Linked DNA regions of Homo sapiens: all the other regions are linked to region 1. The links are contacts of gene promoters, found by promoter capture Hi-C in blood cells and fetal thymus (Javierre and others, 2016). All regions are on one chromosome and are shown on one strand. Each heading gives the region's core, a stretch centred on a gene start or on the middle of the fragment in contact. The rest is flanking DNA. Distances are from core to core; before and after follow the strand shown. Region 1 holds the start of HTR7 (5-hydroxytryptamine receptor 7). Region 2 overlaps LINC01374 (long intergenic non-protein coding RNA 1374). Region 3 holds the start of TNKS2 (tankyrase 2). Region 4 holds the start of HECTD2 (HECT domain E3 ubiquitin protein ligase 2). Region 5 overlaps LINC01374 (long intergenic non-protein coding RNA 1374). Region 6 overlaps LINC01374 (long intergenic non-protein coding RNA 1374).

The links. The method cuts DNA at HindIII sites, captures the fragments that hold promoters and counts their contacts. A CHiCAGO score of 5 or more calls a contact.
Region 2: a contact is called between a fragment that was not itself captured here and the fragment with the promoter of HTR7 in region 1, in 2 of 17 cell types (M0 macrophages and M2 macrophages). The highest score is 9.0, in M0 macrophages.
Region 3: a contact is called between the fragment with the promoter of TNKS2 here and the fragment with the promoter of HTR7 in region 1, in 4 of 17 cell types (fetal thymus, total CD4 T cells, activated CD4 T cells and 1 more). The highest score is 7.3, in fetal thymus.
Region 4: the fragment with the promoter of HECTD2 here is called in contact with the fragment with the promoter of HTR7 in region 1 in 10 of 17 cell types (fetal thymus, activated CD4 T cells, total CD8 T cells and 7 more); the score reaches 10.0 in fetal thymus.
Region 5: a contact is called between a fragment that was not itself captured here and the fragment with the promoter of HTR7 in region 1, in 2 of 17 cell types (naive B cells and M0 macrophages). The highest score is 6.6, in naive B cells.
Region 6: a fragment that was not itself captured here is called in contact with the fragment with the promoter of HTR7 in region 1 in 5 of 17 cell types (M0 macrophages, M1 macrophages, M2 macrophages and 2 more); the score reaches 9.8 in M0 macrophages.

What each region holds. Positions count from the first base shown.
Region 1 is chr10:90,856,624-90,859,323 of GRCh38, reverse strand. HTR7 (5-hydroxytryptamine receptor 7) reads left to right here and starts at 1,285. Exons shown (of 4, transcript NM_019859.4): 1 at 1,285-2,191. The coding sequence starts at 1,653. RefSeq lists silencers at 1,248-1,617, 1,638-1,687. The HindIII fragment of the contact is 8,867 bases long and covers 1-2,700 here.
Region 2 is chr10:89,901,445-89,904,188 of GRCh38, reverse strand. All of the region lies in intron 1 of LINC01374 (long intergenic non-protein coding RNA 1374), which reads right to left. Among named protein-coding and RNA genes, the nearest start is that of LINC01374, 49 kb to the right of the region's middle. The HindIII fragment of the contact is 659 bases long and covers 1,141-1,799 here.
Region 3 is chr10:91,796,994-91,799,693 of GRCh38, reverse strand. TNKS2 (tankyrase 2) reads right to left here and starts at 1,268. Exons shown (of 27, transcript NM_025235.4): 1 at 805-1,268. The coding sequence starts at 1,003. TNKS2-DT (TNKS2 divergent transcript) reads left to right here and starts at 1,403. Exons shown (of 2, transcript NR_108071.1): 1 at 1,403-1,457. RefSeq lists a silencer at 900-1,309 and an enhancer at 1,390-1,559. The HindIII fragment of the contact is 6,559 bases long and covers 1-2,700 here.
Region 4 is chr10:91,408,842-91,411,706 of GRCh38, reverse strand. HECTD2 (HECT domain E3 ubiquitin protein ligase 2) reads right to left here and starts at 1,363. Exons shown (of 21, transcript NM_182765.6): 1 at 1,131-1,363. The coding sequence starts at 1,268. The region is part of intron 3 of HECTD2-AS1 (HECTD2 antisense RNA 1); the gene reads left to right. RefSeq lists a silencer at 1,007-1,596 and an enhancer at 1,747-1,956. The HindIII fragment of the contact is 4,522 bases long and covers 516-2,865 here.
Region 5 is chr10:89,862,234-89,865,009 of GRCh38, reverse strand. All of the region lies in intron 1 of LINC01374 (long intergenic non-protein coding RNA 1374), which reads right to left. Among named protein-coding and RNA genes, the nearest start is that of LINC01374, 9.7 kb to the right of the region's middle. The HindIII fragment of the contact is 8,705 bases long and covers 1-2,776 here.
Region 6 is chr10:89,884,855-89,887,554 of GRCh38, reverse strand. All of the region lies in intron 1 of LINC01374 (long intergenic non-protein coding RNA 1374), which reads right to left. Among named protein-coding and RNA genes, the nearest start is that of LINC01374, 32 kb to the right of the region's middle. The HindIII fragment of the contact is 280 bases long and covers 1,152-1,431 here.

The DNA of each region.
Region 1 (2,700 bases), core at 36-2,535:
CTGTGAACATTAGGGCTTTTTTTTTTTTCCATTAAAACTTTTTCTGAATGTGTACAGGGAAGAATATGGGCATAGTAATCAGATAAACTTGGGTTTGAAACATAACTATTCCTTACCAGCTGATTGCAAGAGCTAACAACCTTCCCTATCTGGAAAAACAGAGCTAATACCCACCTTGAAGAATGAAAGTACTATTCAGCACTCTGATCAATATACTTTGAGGTTTTTATTCCTTTTCTTCTTATTTATAATCCGCTAGGGCCTAACAAGAAAAAACAGATTTGATTATTTTTAGAGTCTTAAACTACAGAAATCACTGCTGGCTTCCAATGAAACCTTCAAACAAAATGGAATGAAGCAAGTCTCACAAATAATAAAAATCAGCCGCTCTGACAGGGTTTGGATACCAAGGGGAATTTTAGCCAATAGGTATTAAATCAACATACACCTCCAGGATTCCTTTATAGAAGAGTATAACCGGTCATTTCTTTGCTTATGTGTAAGACTTCCAGAATGCTACGGGAAAATTAACTCTCTTTTCAATATATTAGGCTTTGAAGTCTAAATATAAAGGCAATCAGGGTCTATTTTCAGAGCGGAGAGGACTGTTTCTAGACATCCAGGAAGGATTAGTCCAAATGGGTGTAACCCCCTTGGAGGCCTTGTCCCCAGAGCATCCTCATCTCCTGGGTGCCAGGGGCTTAAGGAATCCCCCTCCCTCCTTTTTTTCTTTCTTCCTCTTCTCGGAGCTCCCACCCTCACCCCATTCGGCTGCTTCTTTTCCATCTTCGCTTCTTCCCATAAGCGGTCAAAATAGAAAACGGAAGTACCTATTTGTTGCTTAGTGTAGTGCTCAGAGACGTTTTTTTGGTTGTTGTTTAATTAAGAAAAATAAAATCCCCCTCTAGGTTCTTCATTTCGCAATGAGCCCAAACATCCGCTGGCTCATTAGGCCTCTTAACAAAAGAAAAATGCCCCCACTGAACTGTGGCTGACTAGTGTGCGGAGGCTGGGGTCGGCTGGAGGGGTTCTAAGTATCTATCATGCGGCAAGGACAGCTTCCCGGGCGAGGGGACCCGGGATCCCGGGAGGCGCGTGCAGCGCCGCCCCCTCACAGTAGGGAGGCGCGGGAGAGGCGGCGGTGCCTGCCCAGCCCGGGTATCCCGTCCCAGGAGCGCGAGGGAGCGGGCAGCGGCCGGAGGCGGCGGCGGCGGGGACGCGGCGCGGCTGCCGCAGGGGAGCGGCGGCGGCGGCGGCGGCGGCGGCGGGCGCGAGGGGCGGGGCGCACTCCGCAACTTCTGCCGCTGCCGCCCGGGCGCTCTCGGCGCAGCCGAGCTGCTGCTGCGAACTGTGGAGCTGCCAGCGGAGCCCAGCCCGAGCTCCCTCGACTCCGCGCGTCCCAGGCGTCCGTCGGGGGCCGAAGCGCCTCCCGCAGGGAGTCCCCGTGAGGCCGCGCTGCCGCGTTACCCGCAGCGGCCGGGGGTCCGGGGAGTGCGGGGCTCCGAGACAGAGCCAGGCGCCCCCCAGCGGTCGGCGCGGGCCCCATGGCTGGGCCGGGCGGAGCGGAACCGGTGAGGTGAAGCCCCGGGGCCGGCAGCCGGAGGCGCGTGGCCGGGGCGCCGGCTCCATGGGCAGCGGCACACGGCGGCGCGATGATGGACGTTAACAGCAGCGGCCGCCCGGACCTCTACGGGCACCTCCGCTCTTTCCTTCTGCCAGAAGTGGGGCGCGGGCTGCCCGACTTGAGCCCCGACGGTGGCGCCGACCCGGTCGCGGGCTCCTGGGCGCCGCACCTGCTGAGCGAGGTGACAGCCAGCCCGGCGCCCACCTGGGACGCGCCCCCGGACAATGCCTCCGGCTGTGGGGAACAGATCAACTACGGCAGAGTCGAGAAAGTTGTGATCGGCTCCATCCTGACGCTCATCACGCTGCTGACGATCGCGGGCAACTGCCTGGTGGTGATCTCCGTGTGCTTCGTCAAGAAGCTCCGCCAGCCCTCCAACTACCTGATCGTGTCCCTGGCGCTGGCCGACCTCTCGGTGGCTGTGGCGGTCATGCCCTTCGTCAGCGTCACCGACCTCATCGGGGGCAAGTGGATCTTTGGACACTTTTTCTGTAATGTCTTCATCGCCATGGACGTCATGTGCTGCACGGCCTCGATCATGACCCTGTGCGTGATCAGCATTGACAGGTAAGGGCCGGACCGCCCCGTCCCAGGCTCCGGCTGGGGACCGGCTGGCAGCTCAGCCCCGCGCGCTCGCCTTTCCTGGGAGGATCAAGCTAGACTTCAAGGCGGGATGAAGGGCTGCGCTTAAAACACCGCTCCCCCCAATCCACCCTACACCAACCAAACTTCGGTTACGGCATAGCCTATGTACATCTTTAAAAGAAAAACCGGAAATGTTCTGGTTTACTGTAGTGACGAATTTAAGACCAAAGTTAAGAGTATTTTAAGCCTTAGCATTTCCACCAGCGGGTCCCTTGCCTTGGTTTTTGGAAGGAAGGGATTTGGTGCTCCCTGACTTGATCAAGCCTTGCTGTGAGCCTTAAAGAGTCATTAAAAAATAATAATAATAAGTCGGAGAAAAGCCACCTTGCTTACCCCATTGTGGGAGCTACTCCCTAGGCCAGTAAAAGGACCTTGGATGGTTCTAGAATTGGGGTTTGTATGTCTTACACATTGCATCTTTATGATGGTCA
Region 2 (2,744 bases), core at 221-2,720, 960 kb after region 1:
TAGATGGCTAAGTATAGTAAGCTGTTTCCAACCCAGTAATCATCACTGGTCAGCATCCAAACCAGATGATAAAATAACTTTTTTGGTATATAAAAAGCTAAACTAAGGCTATATGAAGGCTTTGTCTCCAGCATCTGGAAAATAGATGCCAGATTTTTATATGAATCTCTTCTTTCCAAGAGGCTCTGTTCTTACATTAAAATAAGATGACAAAATGGTGGAACTGTGTTGCACTTGAATTTTTTCCATAAGCAATTACTGCTATATGTGTCAAATATGAGTGGTCTCCCTGCATAATGGTTCCTCTTCCTGCATAAGAAGTGGAGGACTCTCTATTTATATTCACAATGAGGAGCTAAAGAGAAAATGAAGGAAATAATATGTGAAAGAAAACACTCAATGATTCATTCATTGCTTCATTCAGTGCACATATATTGAGTGCCTGCCTTTTATTAGGCACTACACTGGGGCTGAAGATAAAGTCATAGAGAAAAGAGACATGGTCTCTGTTCTCACAGAGCAGTGTGAGAAACAGTTTAGAAGTAAGGCAGTTATGTAGCAATGCCACCACTTCTGCAGTCAGAGTGCAGAGTGCTGCAGGGGTACCTAGGAGCCCTACCACGCAGGGAAGGCTTCTTGGAGGAGACCTCTAAGCTGAAACCTCAAATAACCAAGAAGGTGATGACAACAAGAAGCCTGAGGAGACACTAGTGCGTGGAAGAAAATGACCAAGAAGATGATGATGAGAGGAGACTGGAGCAATAAGGCCTTACAATAGTCTGAGGCAGTTTCTTCACAGGTACACAGGAAGAATTGTCACTTATCAGAGAAGTGGTTATTTTTACCTCCTATAACAAGAAGAGTAGTTCTTGAAAGCTCCAAGAAGCCTGTTTCTTGGCCTGCAGTAAAAAGCACTCAGTCTTCAATGTCAACTTCCTTGGCATAACAGAGATTTGATTCTCATAAGCCTGACATGTCCTCCTAGTAGCAGACCCATCTATGGAGAATATGGAGGCCATGACAGTTACCTTCTCCCTGCTTCTACTGACATGTGGAGACTGCGAATTCTGCCATAGAGGCCTAGAAAACATCTCCCAGGACTATGAAGTCCATGGAGGGAAGCTGGAGGACTTGCAAGCTTAAGTGGGACTTCATATATTTCAACATCATTAGAGTTGAGAGTTGTAATTTGGATGAGAAAGGAAAAAGTGGGAAGTGAACAAATGGCTACAAGATGTGCTGTAAAATCAATTTCCATTTTCAGGACCTGATGATAGAATAATGGGCTATAAGCTAAGGCCATAATGCATGTCACAAAGAGAGGGAGAAGACATGTTTTCCCAGAGAGTTGCCAATAGGATGACCAGTGACTGAAACTCAAAGTTAAGTATTATAGAAGAGAAATACATGCCCAAATATAATGGGACATTCTACACATTACATAGGAAATCAAAGAAAGAATAATTGAGGGAATAGTACTCAGTATCTCAACAGGAGAAAATAAGCAGGATGGGATTTAGGGATAAGTTTAGGCCACGGTGTGTTGGTAAATGTTTAACAACCAGTCATTTGAGGGAGGGGAAAAAAAATATATATATATATATATGTGTGTGTGTGTGTGTGTGTGTATGTATATATGTGTGTGTGTGTATATATATACACATGTATATATATGTATATGTATATACATGTATATGTATGTATAGATATGTACATATGTATATATATACACACATGTACACACATATATATACACACACACATATATACATACACACAAAATTGTATTGATAAAAGCTTATTACAAATTTTACTGATATAAAGAATTATAACTCAAAATTTACAAATAATAATAAAATACACCACTCTCTTTATTGTAAATTTCATGTAGAAATTGATTCTCACAGAATGCTTTTGCCGATTTTTGCTGAATCTTGTATCTGTATTCAACCTATGGTTGCAAACAATGAATGAGCTTATTTATGACATGAATTTTGGTTGATACTTTCATTCATGTTAACAAGTAAGGACAAAAGCAAAACAGCAGGGACCTATGTTGGAACTTTGTTTATCTGTCAATGATGTGAATGATTTATTTGCTGAATTGGCAAACAGTTTTCAAATACTGCAAAAATATTTTCTTAATGTTATATGCTATTCACAGTGTAATGGCTATAGACACAACATACTATTGTGTCTATTTGTATTATTTACATTTGCTTCATCACTTTCTTAAGTCTAGACAGTCAACAACAAAAAAATCCAGATCTGACTTATAGCATTTGCTGATTTTCCTGGTATAAATATTCCCACCAAGACCAATTTCAAGCTGCCAAGTTGACTTAATGAACACAGCATTGAGAAGGAAAGCATGGCAGTAGCATACCATTATACAGTATTTCTATCTTATAGGAACAATAGACATAACCTTAAGAGTAAAGATACTCTATGATACAGTACAGTGAAATACTTGGACAATCATGAGTTTTACAAATTTATTATTATCTTTTAGCGAATACACTTTCTTTAGCTAAATATTTAGTAATTATCTTTCAGTAATTTATTCTACAGTCTTTCCCAATATTAGTCTCAAGGACACCAGTCTGTGGTGTGCAGACTTCATTCTCCTTTTTCCTTTGTGAAAGAATCAAGTTTGCCCAGAAATTTGCTCCACTATTTTGAAATCTATTCCATTTTCTGTAATTTCTCAAAAATTAGAAACATTGAGTTATATCAAAATTCTA
Region 3 (2,700 bases), core at 19-2,518, 940 kb before region 1:
AATTTTTCGACTAAATTTAATATGCTTAAATCATAAAGTGAACCTAATAAATATTAAAATAATGTAATTCAAACGATCTAAATTTCAGAATGAAGCAAGGTTAGTCCCAACTTAAATTCTAGATTCAAGCTAAAGTACTTGCACTATCTTTTCTCTTATACTACCACTTTCCGCCCAACTTGTATGTGTGTGTGTCTAAGGCTTCCCGCACCCAGCCTAAGTCAGGTTTCAGTTCTCCCAAACTTGCCTATTTCCCGTTCTAGTCACTCCAGAAACTTGGTAATGATTGGCTATTCTGATAAACCAATTAACGCTAATGTGTCAACGTCCTATTAAGCTACTCCTCCTAAATTACATCCTTGTATTTTACAAAGTCCTTCAAGACCTTAACCCAAATGGAACTTGCAAGAACGAAAAATTTTGGAGGTAACTGACCTTTTAAATCATAAGGTCTATCAACTACGTCCCCTACTCTTTCTTGTGTGTAGAGGCCTTCTAGGGTAACAAGACCGGAAGTTGGTACAGGTATTGTTGATACTGTAAAACAAAACAAAGCCAAAACCCCAAACCACCCCCAACACCTGGCAAAAAAACCAAACCAAGACAAAACAAAAAACTTCCAGCGAGTGTGGCACGCTCACCCTACCCCTAATCTCCTTAGTCCCCACTGGAAGAGAGCGAGATCACCAGGACCAGAGTCCTGGAGAAAGGTCGGGAGGCGGAGGAGCACTGGTTTCAGACCTGTGGGCCCCGGCTGCGCAGGTGGGGTCTGGAGCGAGGCGAGGGGACGCTGGCCCCGGTTACCTGCGGCGAAGTGCAGCGGGGTGGATTTCCTGCCCGCCGTGTCGCGGCTGTTCACCTTCTCAGGCGTCACCAGCCTCTTGACTCGTTCCACGTCCCCGTTGCGGCACGCCTCGAACAGCTCTCGGGCGGCCGGCTCCACGGCCTCGGCCGCGGCGCTCGCGCAGGCCGCTCCCCCGCCGGCGCAGCGGCGACCCGACATGATCCTGGCCGCCGCCACAGCCAGCAACAGCGCCAGCAACCGGAGCAGGAGCCCCGGCCCCGCGAGCAGGAGGGCGAGGCCCCCCGGAGAAGACGCGCTCAGGGCCCGGGCCGCTTGGCTCCCTGCTGTCACCGGATCCGGCGCAGTCCCATGGCCGCGCCCACGCGCGCCCCTCGCTGGGCTCCCTGCCCCCCGGCTGCCCCGCGGCGGCGGAGGCAGCGCGAATCCGCCGTCCGGGTCCTGAAACGACGCGGCGGCGGAAGCTGGCAAGGCCCCTCCTGCCAGCTCCGTCCAGCCCCGGGAGCGCACGTGACGTCGTCCCGCGCGTGCGCAGTGGCCGGGCACCGGCTGGGCAGGTTTCGGCTAGCGAGGCGGCGCGAAGGGTTTGTGGGAAATGTGAGGCGAGAGGCTTCGGCGGCGGGAGAAGGGGCTTCGTCCCACCGCCATCTTTGCGGTGGGTTCTGCTGAAGCCGAACGATCCTGCATATTGTGTTTTTTGTTGTTGTTGTTTTAAGCCCTGGGCTTTCCAGGCTGAACTTTCTCACTACCATTACACTGAAAAAGAGCCCTTGAAAGTTTTGCTCGGATCTTGCACATTCTTTTGGAAGTCTTACTGTGGAAATTGTCCGTGTTTTCAGCTTCCACATCCCTTTCTCCTGGGAGATTTCTTTTCCGTTTTTTTTACTTTGTCTCTTTTCTTTCCTCCGCAACTGCTTTGTTGTTGTTGTTGTTGTTTCTTGTAAACCACTTCTCAAAAGTGAACTAGTTGCCGTTTAATAGAAGTTTGGATGAACTGCCCCCAAAATAAAGGAAATCCGAACAGTCATGGAAGTTGACTCCAATTGGAGGGATGGCTCTGATCAATTACTCTTTCCACAGTAAGTTATTAGCTCAGGATTGATTAGAGGAACTTTTTGTAAATCAATATTGTACCTGACATGCCTAAAGTTTGGATACACTGAGCATACGCATCTCCAAGAAAGTTTTCTGAGTTATAATCTTTTTCTTTGACCAACAAACAAAAGAAAAGCATATAATTGATTTTCATGCTTAAGATACTGGTGTAGTTTTACACGATAATTCCCCACTACACCCCCTTGTCTTAAACTGAAAGAAAGGTATGCCTATACATACATTTTACTTACAGAAGATGATACATGTTGACCTTTGCCATTCTGAAAAGCATCCCCCCCCCAACCTCCTACCTTAACCTGTTTTTCAGGAAATCCAGTTTTTGTTGGGGAATGTTGACTCACTACAGTGCTAAAAGAGGATGTACACTTTTTTGAGCATTTTTATACATATGAAATTGAAGTTATGGTGCTTATCAATAACATGAACATGCATGAACGAACCTAGGACTAGAACACTACCAATATGATTGCGTTTATCATTTTTCTTCCCATAAATCTGCTATGGTGATCTATGATCAGTGATAAGTTGAAATCACTGTTGTAATTGTTTTGAGGCACCACAAACCACACCCATAGAAGACAGCAATCAATCAATAAATGTGTATGTTCTGACTGCCCCACTGACAGGCTACTCTGCCATCTCTCTCCCTCTCCTGGGGCCTATCTGTTCCCTTAAACACAATAATATTGAAATTAGGCCAATTAAGAACTCTGCAATGGTTTTCTAGGTGTTCAAGTGAAAGGAAAAGTTGCGTATCTCTCACTTTAAATCAAAAGCTAGAA
Region 4 (2,865 bases), core at 114-2,613, 550 kb before region 1:
TCGCAATTTGCTGCATTGATTTAAAGAGCTTGTTTTAACAATTTCCAGTTATCAGGGCCCTCAGACATTTTTGAAAAACCTACCGAATCCGAAAATTATTCCTAACACCAATACAGTACTTAACGAAGAGTGAGCTATTTTAGTAAGTTCTTAGTCATTTAAGAGGGAGGTTTTAAGAAATGAACCGCAAGTAGGAATAAAGAAAATGTATAATGTTCACTAAACTTTTACTATTTTGTCACACACAGCTGCATGACAAGTCATGATCTTTAAATATATCAAAGCAAACTTTCAAAAAGTACTTAAATATTATGTCAAAATAAAAAATTGCAAAATCCGAGGTTTTTTTTTAAATTGTGCTTCAAATTAACCAGTCACAACCACCAGTAAAAATAGGGAAAGAGGGGGAGGGGGCTGTCCCATGACATCATCTGGCAATATGTAGTTTGAAGCCTGACAGCGCTCTCCAAATAACCCTTACGAAGATACAGCTGGGAAATCATCCCTGTCAAGCTTAGATAACTTGGGTTTAAATAAAAGGTTCAAAAAGCCTCCCCCCACCTGAGTCACATGTCTGTACCATATGAAAAATAAAACCATCACTGATGCATCTACCTCCCACTACACTGACAGCAACGGAAAGGTCACAATTAAGTGGAAACTCGCCGCAGAGCCTGTTTAATCTGAAGGGGGAAGGGAAAGAAAAGCGAAGAAAAGGACAAAAATCTGCGCGCCTCCAAGGCAGGCAGGCAGGCAGGCACCTCCGTGGAAAACCCACTCCCGCCTGCTGACACCTATGCTCATCCAACAGATCATGCCGACTCAAGATGCAGGTCATTCTCTTAGAGAAAGTGGGGGCCCAAGCCCCAGAAAATAACCCAAACATCCAGCGGAACCGACCACCCCCAACATTTCCCGAGGGTGGTAGGTGTACCTCGCGAAGTGTTCGGGGCTGTCCACGAGGCACAACTCTTTTATTTCTGCCCAAGGAAGGGCGGCCTGAGTGCGTCTCCCTGGAGTGCCAGGGCGTGCCCAGGGTAAACGCAGGCCTCCTGACGGCCCTCGCCCGGCCGCCGTCCCTCCCAACTCCCGCCGTCCGGGGCGCCAGACGGCCCCGGCCCACCACCTACCGCGGTCGCGCCGGCGCCCGCCGATACGATGGGCGGCAGCTTCTCGCGCTCTGACTCCTTCCCTTTCCTCTCCTCAGGCGCGGGCGCCGCCACCACCAGCGGAGTGGCGGGCGAGGGTACCCGAACCGCCTCACTCATGTCGGGCCGGGCGGCGGGAGCGCCAGGCGGCGGCGGCGGCCTCAGTGTTGCTGGGGCTGGCGCTGCTGCTGCCGCCGCGGCCGCGAGAGGGCTCTGGGCTGCCGCTTCTAGCCGCCGCTGCCGCCGCCACTCCGCCCCCGCCCGCGCCCGCGCCTTTGCGCGCGAGCCCGAGGCCGCCCCCGCGCGCGCCAGCCCCGCGGACGCGGCTCCCCACAGGTCCCACAGGTTTCTTGCTCTCGCCTCCCCCGCCCGCCCGGGGCTCGCGCGTCGCGGGTCGGGAGCGCCGGCGGTAGTCCCCCTCGTCAACCCCGAGGGCCCGGAGAGAAGGCGCCACGGTCGACGCCCGACCGCCATATTGTTTGCAGAGTGTCGCCCGAGATGACGAGGAGACCCCGCACCCGGGCCGCGCAGGAGAACCTGGACTAAGGACGGGCAGTCGGGGAGACAAGTCGAGCCCTGCAAAGGGTCGGACGGGGATAGAGTGTCCGAGTGGTACCAGTAGGGCAGGACGTAGGCACAGACTACCCTTCACGGACGGCCCTGGCCTGCGGCGCCGAGTCCCGCGGGCAAGCGCCCTCGGGGTCTGGGCTGGTGGCCTTTCGCCTTCTTCCAGGCGCCCACAAAGCTGTCCGCCTTGGGGCTTCTGCCTTCTTATCCTTGCCCGCCCTCCTGAGCCCAGGAGAGGCGGCCCGGAGCTTGCGCAGCCCGGGGAGACAGCCTTCCTGGCTCAGCAACCGACTCTTTTGTACACGCCTGGATGGCTTCAGCCTACACAGGAAAAGCCTGGAGGTGGGGAGGAGTGCGACGTGGTGGGCCCCCCCTTTCCCCTTCCCCCATAGGATTGGACGGCCAGTCCACACTTTCCATTCCTGTTCCTCTCGTCCCTCTTTGACTGCCAAATCCGCCTCTCCCTTCCCGTCCCCACGCGCCTACGTTTTGCTCTCTCCCCGCAACCCTTTGCTGTCTCCTATCCGTCCCTTCCTTGTTCCTTTCCGTTTATGTTAGAGATGTACATACCCAAACTCTGCTGCACAGTCCTCAATCAAATCATTACAAATAGGAGTAAAAACTTGAAAGCCGAAGAAGAGAGCTTTTAATTATGAAATTAAAATACCCCCCACCTCCACCACCAGGACACCTAGACAATTTCCTTTCCTTTCTTGTCGCCCCCTCCTTTTCCTTTTTCTCAGTCTACTGGAGCGGCGGGGACACCTGCTGATCTAGGAGAAAAGAGAGTAAGAATGCGCTGTATCGCCTGTTAAAAGCAAGGAATTTCGATATTCAGCTCTATCAGATTTTTTATCTGTGCCTTCATTATTTTATTGGAGGTTGAGTGAATTTTTAGATCAAGAGTACCTAAGTCCAAATATAAGAACCAAAAATATCTCTGAAACAAACCCAAATATGATTTCGGGGTATCTATTGTTTACATAATTTGGAGTTATTAGTATAACTAAATACTAGTTATGGTGCATCATGAGATAAGGTTGCATGTTTTCAAACCCACAATTTGTAACAAGTAGATCTGAAGCAAACAATGTTGCCTTCTAAATTTTGAATTCTGACTTTCATTTATAGAAAGGCTTTCTACTTTAAT
Region 5 (2,776 bases), core at 277-2,776, 990 kb after region 1:
GAATTTTCAAGCCCCACATTTCCACATAGGGTGCTCTCTCCCTAGTGCACAATATATAGAGATCCCTGCTGTCCTTGGGATCCGCTCTCCTTGACCTCAGCGTTGCAAGCAGGTTAATTCTAAAAACATTTTCTGATTGACAGAAATATTTTGCTGAAAAGTAATACAATTAAGGTACACGCTGAAAAACCAATCTGAGGCTGATTCTACCAAATTAACCTATCGGAACAAATTGACAGGTCACTTCAGGAAAATCACCAGTTAATCTGGTTTTTTTAAAACTGAATTCTCAAAGATAGAATTGACTGCCTCTTTCATCAAGGGCTGTCTTTTGTCTTAATATCATACTGGCTCGCTGTCGATAAAAATGAAACATTTTATTTCTCAAATCCTCATCCTCAATTGGTTCATCTTATGCTCCAGTGGGTAACATTTCTACTTTTTGAGACTTTTGAGAGTTTAAATGGCTTGTATCATTTTGCTTGGGATTTTTGTTTTCTCTAGAATTGAAGGAGAAGTGAATTTCACTGACCAGTAACAGAGTAAGTATTTCTGGAATCTGCTCAAGTTTGCACATAGAATTTAGCATCATCTTGATTATTTAAAAATTTAGCTGTGAACATAAATATCTAAATATATCTGCCTACACATATAGACAACTGATTTCCTCAAGAATTAAATATGAAGATTTATTTATTTGTTCATTCAAGGAATATTTTATTTAGAAATAAATATATTCTCAGTGGTTCTGTGCTAGTGGTAATATTTAAAAGATTGATACAACAAAGTCCGTGTCCTCAAGTAACTTACTGCCTGGAGAAAAAAAGACAGTCAACTAAGCAAACACCAGATGCAGTAGGTAGGAAACAGAACAATCTCTCCATGTCTCATTACAAAATCTTTATCGCCCATTAGTCCAGAGAGGGGTGAAGGAGGCATCTATCATTCTGGTCTGAAACACTGGCACACAGTAAGAAATAGCATGCCCAGTGATGCTAGGTCTAGCCTGTGGGAAAAAAAACACAAAAACTGTAACTTAGATGTTTATATTTAGTCCTATCTCAACTTTTCCCTCTCGCCACTCTCAGCTCCAGCTATAAAATTATCCCTCCATTGCCACTTGACATTAATGAGAAATAATAATAATAGCTAACATTTATTACTACCAGGCAGGCACTACACTATGTTCCTGACATATTGTTGTGCATTACATCCTAATGGCAACTACTAGATAGCATCATCATTATCCTCATGTCAGTATAATAAATGGAGAAACATAAAGGCTAAAGAATTTGCACAAAGAATTTGGACTCAGGTAATCTGCTCAGTATCCAATGTCTACACCATCATTGTTTACTGGAACTGATACACTAAATCATTTTTCTGACCAAAAACTAGTGTATGGTGTCCCACTTCCCACCCCTTTCCCCTCAAAAGCTATTTTCATTTTAAAGAACGACTTGATTTAAAAGCCTTCTGCACAGCAAAAGAAATAACCAGCAGAGTGAAAAAAACAATCCACAGAGTAGGAGAAAACATTTGCAAACTATATATCTAACTAAGAACTAATATCCAGAACCTACAAGGAACTCAAACAAATCTGCAAGAAAAAATAATAATAATCCCATCAAATAGTGGGCAAAGGACATGAGTAGACAATTCTCAAAAGAAGATATACAAATGGCCAAGAAAAATATGAAAAAATGCTCAACATCACTAATTATCAGGGAAAGACAAATTAAAACCACAATGAGATACCACCTTACACCTGCAAGAATAGTCATAATTTAGATATCAAAAAATAATAGATATTGGCATGGATGCAGAGAAAAGGGAACACTTTCACACTGCTGGTGGGAATGTAATGAGTATAACCACTATGGAAAATAGTATGGAGATTCCTTAAGGAAATGAAAGTAGAGCTGCCATTCGACCCAGCAGTCCCACTACTGGATATCTACCCAAAGGAAAAGAAGTCATTATATGAAAAAGACACATGCACACACATGTTTACAGCAGCATAACTCGCAATTGCAAAATATGGACCCAATGTAAATGCCCATCAACCAATGAGTGGATAAACAAATGTGGTATATATGCACCATGGAATACTACTCAGCCTTAAAATTGAATGGAACTATGGCCTTTGCAGCAACTTGGATGGAGTTGAAGGCCCTTATTCCAAGTAATGTAACTCAGGAATGGAAAACCAAATACCATATGTTCTCACTTAAAAGTGGGAGCTAAGCTATGAGGAGGCAATGGCATAAGAAGGATATAATGGACTTTGAGGATTTGGCAGGGAAGGATGGAGGAGGGTGAGGGATAAAAGACTACATATTGGGTACAGTGTTCACTGCTCAGGTGATGGGTGCATGAAAAACCTCAGAAATCATCACTAAAGAACTTATCCACGTAACCAAAAGCCACCTGTACCCCCAAAACTATTGAAATTAAACAAATAAATAAAAATTAAAAAGAAGGACTTGAATCCATTGTGTTGGAATGTCAGGCATTGTGAAATGATAAGGGGACAGCACACCCAGAGATGCTACTACGAGGTCCTCCAGCCTATTGAAAAAAAACTCTATCTTAGTTGTTTATATTTTGTCCTATTTCAACTTTTCCCTCTCTCAACTCCCAATGCCTGGGAACAGACCCTGATACTGTCCCTAAAAAGCACCAAACAGTCATTTGGCATGTACTTTTAAGAAGCAGGGAGCTGAACAAATTAGGCTTTAGATTAATATGCAAATGACTCACATAACAATTAAAA
Region 6 (2,700 bases), core at 42-2,541, 970 kb after region 1:
TAGGTGGCAGAGCCAAGCTGCTCTTTCAGTTTGGTGTTCTTTCCTGTACACATCTATCTGTGGAAAGGGGAATTTAAAATTCTCCCTCTAATCGCAGAGACAGTTCCCTGGGGAATGGCTGTATTTTAAAATGCAAAACAACAACCTAGACTTTTGAATAACAAAACGATTGGTTTAAATCAGGTGGAAAACCTATTTACAAAATGGGTTTAATATAAAAAAAATCTCCAAAACCTGATCTGAAGGAATTTTGCCTTCGTGTTTTTTTTCTTTTGCTATGTCTGAACATATTCTTTTTCCTTTAAAGTGACTTTAGAAGGAATACCTAATGAAGGCTACTACAATGATGCTTTTTTATGAATTAAAATAGTTGTTTCATTGTTTTGGATGACTACACTGGTTCTCTCGGTATCTTATTCTGTTAGGTGCTCTAGCTTTTATCTAACTCAAAAGAAAATAGGGAGGGGGAATCTTTTCTGGATTACCATATGCATTTGTGTCTTTTTCTGTCTTTCCCATATTTCATCACACAATTGGAGGAAAAATAATTTGTACAGCTCAGTAATTTGAATTTTAGAGCAAGTGTTCTGAAACTTCAGACTTACCAAAGAGGTATGAACTGGGTTTAATTGAATCTTAGTTGCTTAAGTAGGTTGAGGCGTTAATGTTTATCTGATTCTTCATCATCTGCTCCTGTTTGGACTCGTAAGCCTCTTCTCTAAATTGGTTTACTCCTTTCTCAGCACAGAGATTTGCCAGGAGAAATTTCTGGAAATTCAGCAGCAGGTGTCAGTGCTGCAAAGGTCCATCCAGTCAGGTAATCTCACAGCTTCCTCTCTTCTCATATCAACTGCAAACTATTTATTATGTAGGAAATATATGCTAATAAATATGGTAATCCATATCAGTTTTAATTATTTTAGTTTGCTTCACTATTTCAATAATAAAACATTAACAACCATTTGAGTTCACTAATTCTAGATTTCCAAAAAGTGATTCCTAGAATTTTAAAAGAAAAATATTTGGTTAACAACAATATTTCATGTTAGAAGAAAAGAAGGAAGAGATTCTGTCTGGAGGAAGAAGATTAGTTTTGGATTTTTTGTTTGTTTGTCTTCTCAATATATCTCTTTTTCTTAGGGTGAAAAGCTTATGTCATTTATAAAAATGAGGTTACAAATTAGCTCACTGGTGCTCATCAGTAGTTTATTAGTCTCAATCTTATTAATAATCATACTGTTCTTTCTGGGAAGCTAATAGCAAACTGAAGATCACTTTGAAAGATAATTGGCTTTGGCTTAGTAACAAAGCCATGTTTATAGATGTCTCTGGAAAAAAAGAAACCCACACACCATCAAATAATATTAGAGTGTCATGGTCCTTATGGCCAGATTAAGACTACTTCCAGGTGTCTCCCTTCCTCAGTAAGCTTCCTGTTTCCCACCAAACCAAAACCAGAACATATTGCTGACCAAAACACAAACGGTTTATATCCAGCCTGTTCTTCCTGAACAGTATCCAACTTTATTTGGAAGCAGAAATTGCCTATTCTCTGGAGATGAGTTGTGATTAGCCAAATCAATTCTGTTCCTCACTTTCCCAGTCTCCTTGCAACTAAATATGGCCCGGTGATATAATCCTTGTCTAGAAAATATATGTGAAGGTGGCCTGATAAAGGATCTTACATGTCCTGCTCCTTCCCCATTTTTCCTGATGGCTGGACCTATAGCAGCCATCTCGTAGCCGTGAGGCAACCAACAGGAGAATGAAGGTGTACACGCGAAGAATAACAGTTCAGAATGATAGAAAGTAACTGGGTCCCTGATGGGAGAGTTGAGAAGATGAGCCTACAACAGTAACCACCTACCCCTGGAATGCCAATAATGTAAAAACAAAAATCTTAATAAATTATTGGTGTAAGCTACTGCTGGCGTTTCTAACTGCTATAACCTCCTTTTCCCAGGAAAATCCTAGAACCTTTGTCTGTGACACTATTCTTCCATTTACTCTGATAAAAATAAAAGAACAAAAACATCTTGTTGTCCATATTCTTACACCATTAAAACAACATGCACAGGGTTAGGATTTTCATCAGTTTGACAATTTACTAAAGTGTTTAATTTACTTCTGTGCCAGAAAAATCTTGTAGCTGCATCCAAACTGATTATTTATAACGTGAGATGTTATTTGAATGACAGTGTATTTTATTTTCCAATTACATTTTGTTTAAGAGGTAAAATATCCATTTATAAAACTACTGCTGCTATAAAATGGTTTTACTATTAAAATCTAGATCCCTTAATTTATTCATATAGAATCCATTATAGTATACAATTTGGATGGACTGGGGTCATAATAAGAAGTCTCTTTTAATATCAGAAACAAACAATAACAGAAGCAGATTTAATCTGTCAGCCTTAATCTTAAACTCCAGATAAATTCTGCTTTACCTATCTCAAACAAGTGAAACAAGAGTGATTAGAAGTTAATAAAATCAGTATGTAGTATAAAATAGATGCTAAATAAAGTTAATGAGTCAAGATAATATAATTCTGACTACACAGGATACTAGTTTATAGTATCTGAAGTTTCAGCAAACAAGTTGAATCCCAGCTGAGTTCCAACCTAACTATATGTACTTAATGTTCTTTAACATATAAGTTCAGGTATCCAAAATAGATAAATGAGAGCTAAAATAAT